Linked DNA regions of Homo sapiens: region 1 is linked to region 2. Evidence: promoter capture Hi-C in human tissues and cell types (Jung and others, 2019). All regions are on one chromosome and are shown on one strand. Each heading gives the region's core, a stretch centred on a gene start or on the middle of the fragment in contact. The rest is flanking DNA. Distances are from core to core; before and after follow the strand shown. Region 1 holds the start of B3GNT3 (UDP-GlcNAc:betaGal beta-1,3-N-acetylglucosaminyltransferase 3). Region 2 holds the start of UNC13A (unc-13 homolog A).

Evidence for each region. Contacts are between HindIII fragments. The study calls those that stand out against the background at their distance.
Region 1: a contact is called between the fragment with the promoter of B3GNT3 here and the fragment with the promoter of UNC13A in region 2, in 4 of the 25 tissues and cell types used here (adrenal gland, lymphoblastoid cells, mesenchymal stem cells and 1 more).

The regions. Positions count from the first base shown.
Region 1 is chr19:17,793,866-17,796,708 of GRCh38, reverse strand. B3GNT3 (UDP-GlcNAc:betaGal beta-1,3-N-acetylglucosaminyltransferase 3) reads right to left here and starts at 1,571. Exons shown (of 3, transcript NM_014256.4): 1 at 1,503-1,571. RefSeq lists enhancers at 978-1,675, 1,676-2,373. The HindIII fragment of the contact is 34,117 bases long and covers 1-2,843 here.
Region 2 is chr19:17,686,589-17,689,613 of GRCh38, reverse strand. It overlaps UNC13A (unc-13 homolog A), which reads left to right and starts at 1,260. Exons shown (of 44, transcript NM_001080421.3): 1 at 1,260-1,436. The coding sequence starts at 1,415. RefSeq lists a silencer at 1,742-1,924 and enhancers at 1,158-2,118, 2,119-3,025. The HindIII fragment of the contact is 19,419 bases long and covers 1-3,025 here.

The DNA of each region.
Region 1 (2,843 bases), core at 322-2,821, 110 kb before region 2:
CACCCTAGGGGTGAGAGTGAGGGAGGGTGTCCAGGCTGGACTGAGCAAACACCCAACTGCTCACCTAGGCCATATGGGGGCCCAGCTGCCTGACCTGGGGGCCACACCTCTTCCTCCTGACACCAGCCCTGCCTGGTGTCACCTTGAGAACAGGCCAGTGGGAGGAAGTGATGGCCCCCAGGGCTGGCCCCAGACCTAGACGGCCAGGTGGCTTCCCATGGGCCCTGAATCCCAGATCTGGACTGCAGGAGTCCCCCGCCCAAGTTGAGGGGCGACCTCAGTTTCCTCTTGAGAAGTGTCCATTTAAAAAAATCAGAGCTGGGCATAGTGGCTCATGCCTGAAATCCCAGCACTTTCAGATGCCAAGGCAGGAGGATTGCTTGGGCCCAGGAGTTTGAGACCAGCCTGGACAACATAGTGAGACCCCGTCTCCACACACAAAAAAATTTTAAAATTAGCTGCCTGTGGTGTGCACCTGTAGTCCCAGCTACTCGGGAGGCTGAGGTGGGAGGATCACTTGAGCCCAGGAGGTTGAGGCTGCAGTGAATACAGTGCATGGAGCCACTGTACTCCAGCCTGGGTGACAAAGTGAGTCCCCCACCTCTACAAATAAAACAAACAAACAAAAAGTTTAAATCTGACCCAGAGGAAAAGATGGTCGGGATTCTTGGAACAGGAGTGAATCTGAACAGTGGCTACAGACATAATTAATATAATTATGATGACAGCTGACTGTCCCTGGGCACCCACTGAGTGGCCACAGCTCCTATCCACTCAACTCATCCTCGCCAAGGTCCCATGCCATGAGACCCCCCCTTAACACACAGGGAAACTGAGGCTCAGAGACCTAACGCCAGTCACGCAAGGGCCCCCAGTGGCCAGCAGTACACCTCATCACAAAAATTTCCTTTGACTAAACGCTTCGGGCATCCTCATCCCAGCTGGTTCATTGTTCCACCTCACGGAGGGGAAACTGAGGCCGGTTCAGCAATGTGTCCATGCCACGCAGCCAGGGCCCCTGGAATGCCGCCCAGCCACCTGGCAGGGCCTGCAGCACCGGAACCGCAGGGAGAGACTGGGGGTCACCTGCAGTTCCCAAACCCAACCGGGGACCCCAGCGCTGGCTTGCCCAGATACTCCCAACCAAGGGGCCAATAATCTCAACAACACAGGTAACAGTAACAGCCAAGTCTGACTAAGCGGCATCCGCCTCGGGGGTCTGATCCCGCCCAATCTGGGAGGGGCGCCGGGGTCCCGGGTCGCCAGCTGTGGGGGAGGCTTCCTCCCCGACCCAGGTCCGAGCTGGCCTTGGGAACGCCGGAGACAATTACGGATGGGTGAGGGCAACCGGGTTCTCGAGACTCGGGGCTCCCGAATGTTCCCACATCTGCAGGGTATGCGCGGTGGAGACCGGCAGGGGCTTCTCCAGAGCCACAACTTCCCCACCCCCAAACCCCCACCACTGGGGTCCGCCAGATCCTCCGGGGGCTGCCGACACTCACCCCCAGACGACAGTCCCGCCTCTGCCCCTCTACCTGCTCCTCTCAGCTCGCGAGCCGAAGAAAGAGTTTTTACCTGAGCCAGAGCTCCCGCCCCTCTCCCGCTTCCTCCCTCCCACCGGGCCTCACGCCTTCCTGCCTCCCTCCGCCTTGGCCGCTTGCCAGTCCCCCTCTTCCCAGCTCGGCTGAGTTTCCTGGTGGCCCAGGCGAAGTTCTCTGCCGGCTCCTCCCTCCCCGGCCATGCCTCTTCCCCTCTCCGGTCCCGGCTGCCACCTCTGCCATCCCGCTCTTGCCACCCTCGCCCCTCTCGGGGCTCACGACCCCACCTTGGGTCTGGCCCGCTGCTAGGGAATGAGCTCCCCGTGGCTGGAGATGAACAAGCAGCGCCTTGCGGGTTCCTGGCACAGAGCCCGGTCAGCGTTGGCCCACGTGTGTTCCGTGAAGAAATGATTGGATAAGCCCATGGCGATAAGGAGGGAGGGAGGCAGGTTAAACCTTGCGGCACCTCTGCTCTCTGCGGGGAGTTCAAAGATTCCTGAAGCTGGGGTCGGCGCAGTGGCTCACTCCTGTACTTCCAGAGGCCGAGGGGGGCGGATCGCTGGAACCCAGGAGTTTGAGACCAGCCTGGGCAACATAGTGAGATTCCATCTCTATATTGAAAATAATTCCAGGACCCGAAAACCTACGATGTGCCCCCAGACATCCAGATGCCACCTGCTGGCATTTGGAAGGGTTCTGGAAGTCAACAATCAGACAGATTTGTAGTCTTTTCTTTTTCTTTTTTTCTTGTTTTGAGAGACAGGATCTCGCTTTGTCACCCAGGCTAGAGTACAGTGGTGTGATCTCCGCTCGCTACAATGTCGACCTCCCCAGTTCAAGCAATCCTCCCACCTCAGCCTCCCGAGTAGCTGGGACTACAGGCACCCGCCAGCATGCCTGGCTAATTTTTGTCATTTTTCTAGATATGGGGTTTTGATATGTTGCCCAGGCTGGTCTTAACTGTGGGCCTCAAGTGACCTTCCTGCCTCAGATCCCCAAGGTGCTGGATTATAGATGTGAGCCACTGCACCTGGCCTCAGATTTGTAGATTTTTAGGGTTGGGTTGGCTAGGATTCGAACCCTGCCCTGTGCTGCCTCTGAATCTCTAGGAGATTCTAGCCTGGACCCAGCGTTGGGAGCTCTGGGGTTGGGGAAGTCCAGGTGTGTGAGCTGGGCTATGGTTTCAGGAAACCCCTCCTTCCTCCTTCATCCCTGTTTCTTCCCGAGGAGGAAGCCGAGGTGTATATGTGGCCTGTCTGTGCCTCAGTTTCCTCACCTGTAAAATGTAAGAAATAGCCCCTGGGT
Region 2 (3,025 bases), core at 11-2,510:
CAGAGTTTGGTTTTGAACAATGGCCTCACTCAACTCCATGCACATTCTGCATTTATGAAGCTCTTTCATGTGGGCTGGGGGCAGGAGACCCTGTGGGGCTCAGCCTTTCATGCTAGTTTAGGTGCCAGTGATACAGCGAGCAGGTTGCAGGGCAAGGGGCCCACATGGAGCTGCCCAGTTTGATATGTGGGGAGGGGGCCAGGCGCAGTGGCTCAGGTCTGAATCCCAGCACTTTGGGAGGCCGAGATGGGCGGATCCCCTGAGGTCAAGTGTTCAAGACCAGGCTGGCCAACATGGTGAAACCTCGTCTCTACTAAAAATAAAAAAAATAAAATAAAAAAAAAAAGCTGGGCATGGTGGCATGCGCCTGTAGTCCCAGCTACTCGGGGAGGCTGAGGCAGGAGAATCTCTTGATCCCAGGAGGCAGAGGTTGCAGTGAGCCAAGATTGCGTCACTGCATTCCAGCCTGGGCTGCAGAGGGAGACTCCATCTAAAAAAAAGAAAAGTGGGGAGGAGTGGCAGAGTTTCGTTCGGGTCAGGGCCCAATCAGAGGAAGGGATAGGGGCTGGGGGAGTCCAGAGAGGAGAAACAAAGGCTCAGCTTGGGGCAGTCAGGGAAGCCTTCCTGGAGGAGAGGATATTCAGACAAGACATTGATGGATGAAAAGGAGTTCAGAGTGTGGGCAAGGACCCATGGGCTGGATGGCTTAGAGACATAGAGAGAGACCTAGACAGGATGCAGTAGAGCTGCAAAAAGACTTTACAGAGAGAGGCTAAGAGACACATGACTGAGAGAGCAGTGGACAGAGTCAGAGGAACAGAGACCCAGGGAGAGAAAGAGACCAGGCAGTAGAGTTAGAGAGACAGAGACGTAGAGACAGAGGAAGAGAGATACTCAGAGAACAGGACCATCTGCCCGGTGCTGGTGCCGGGCGTACACACAAGAGCTTGCATTTGCCTGTACTTGCTTGAGTATTGCAGGGAGGCGTTTGCCCAGGTTACCAGGGCAGGAATGTCCATGCATGGGTGGCGGGGGCACGTGCACCATTTCAGTGCAGGTGAGGGTCTGCACAGGAGGAAACCTGCTTGGGGGCCGCCGTCGCCCCTTGTCCCCCTGCAACGAGGAGGTGTGGGGCGAGGCGCCCCTTCCCGGAGCCAGGCCCTTTAACGCCCCCCCAGCCCGCAGCGCCCCCGCCCCATCAGGCGTCCCTGGGCTCCGCCTGCCCGCCCCGCATCAGCGCCACGTCAGGCGCTGTCCGCGCCCCCGGTGCTGAACCAAGATGGCCGGTGGCGGCCGGGCCCCGGCGTGAGCCAAGCGCGGGCTGCAGCCGGGAGATGCCCCAGCCCAGCGGCCGCTGAGCCCGACCCGACAGAGCCGGCCCGGCCGCCTCCGGCCCACCTGCGAGCTCGGAGACATGTCTCTGCTTTGCGTTGGAGGTAGGAGGCGAGGCTGGGGGTCGGGGGACCCGTGTGGACGCGGGCTGGGGTCGGGGTCCGCGTGGATGCGGCTCCCAGGGGGTTCCTGGGGGGTGACCCGAGTCCAGGTGGCTGGACTTTTGAGAGGGGTAGCCCTTGTCGACGCAGCTGGGCCCCGGAGGGGGTGATCCGTGTAGACGCGGCAGGGCTCTCGGGGGTCCTGGTGGCCGCTGCTGGAGGGGTCGTGTGGACGCGGCTGAACGCGGAGGCCCGTGTGGACGTGGACGGGTATCCGGGGTTCTACCCGGAAACGATCTAGACTGGGGCGTCTGTGTAGACCAGGTTTTTAGAGGGTCAGTGAGGAAGAGTCTGGGCTCGGTAGTTTGATTGAAGCCTGCAGGGGTGCTTGGAAGGGGTCTGGTGTTGTGGGCTGGGTTACGGGTCCTCATGGACGCGGACCCGGCTGGAAATTCGAAGGAGAGTGCGGTGGGAGGGTTCTCCAAGCCGTGGGGATGTAAGATATAGGTAGAGGGGCTTGGCCATCAGGGCATCCACGAGTTCTAGGACTCTCCCAGCCCTAGGTGTAAAGAGGACTGGAGTGGGGGGAGTGTGGAGACAGGAGACCCCTCCCAGCGTCCAGAGAGGGCTGTGACTGGAGGTCTGGGGGCGCTTTTCCAGTTAACTCTTTGGCCTCCCGAGTGAGGGGGTTGGAGGAATGTCCAGAAGGTCTTCCCGCTCCCTGCCCCCTCCGGTTCTCCCAAACACGTTTCAGGGCCTTCTCGGCAGGGAGCCTACTTCTTGGAAGAGCAATGTCTCCTGGTCCCCCTCCTGGCCCATCCTCACCTCACCCACTTTGCACTGGAGAGAGGGAGGGAGGGAGACGTGAGGTGGGGGGGGAGCTATTTTGGGGCCAGAACGCCATCTGCACAGAGGCCCACGCCCAGGCCCACGCTCTGCGTTGGGGTTGGAGGAGGGAGGGAGACGTGGGAGGGGCATGACCCCCCACCCCACACCTTTATGGCTCTGGGGTCGTGGGGAAGCCAGCCCAACCGAACCCAGGCGTTCTGGGCACTCCCGTTTGAGAAATCAAACTCTGGGAGACCTTGGGCGGCAGGGGTGGATGTGGACCGCCGTTCCACGCCTACAGAGCTCTGAACCCCTGGTTCTTAAGGACTGGGGTCCCCCCGTCACTCCCACCCATTTCAAGAAGGCTGGGGTGGGGGAAGGGGTGTGTCTGCCAAGCCTGAGACTGCAGGCTTCGGGAGACCTCGGGCGACAGGAAGCGTGCGTGTGCTGAACTCCTGCTGCCTGGACACAGGGTGGGCAGGCCGGGGAGCCGGGAACCGCCCCCGCCGCCCCTCCTCCTCCCTCCCCTCCCCCTCGGCCGATTCATTCACAAACCCTGCCCCGCCCGCCCGCTCCCCGCCGCGGCAGCTTCCGAGTGCAAATCCGGCCGGGCTGGGCCGGCGTGGACGCGGGTGTTCTTAAAGGGACAGGGGCCTACTTTCTCTAAGCTCGTTTCTGCTGGACGGGGCTGGGGGTGGTGGAAGAAGGGTCCCTAGAGTCAAAGGTCAACTCCTCCATCCCCTAGCCTCCAGGCCTATGGAGTT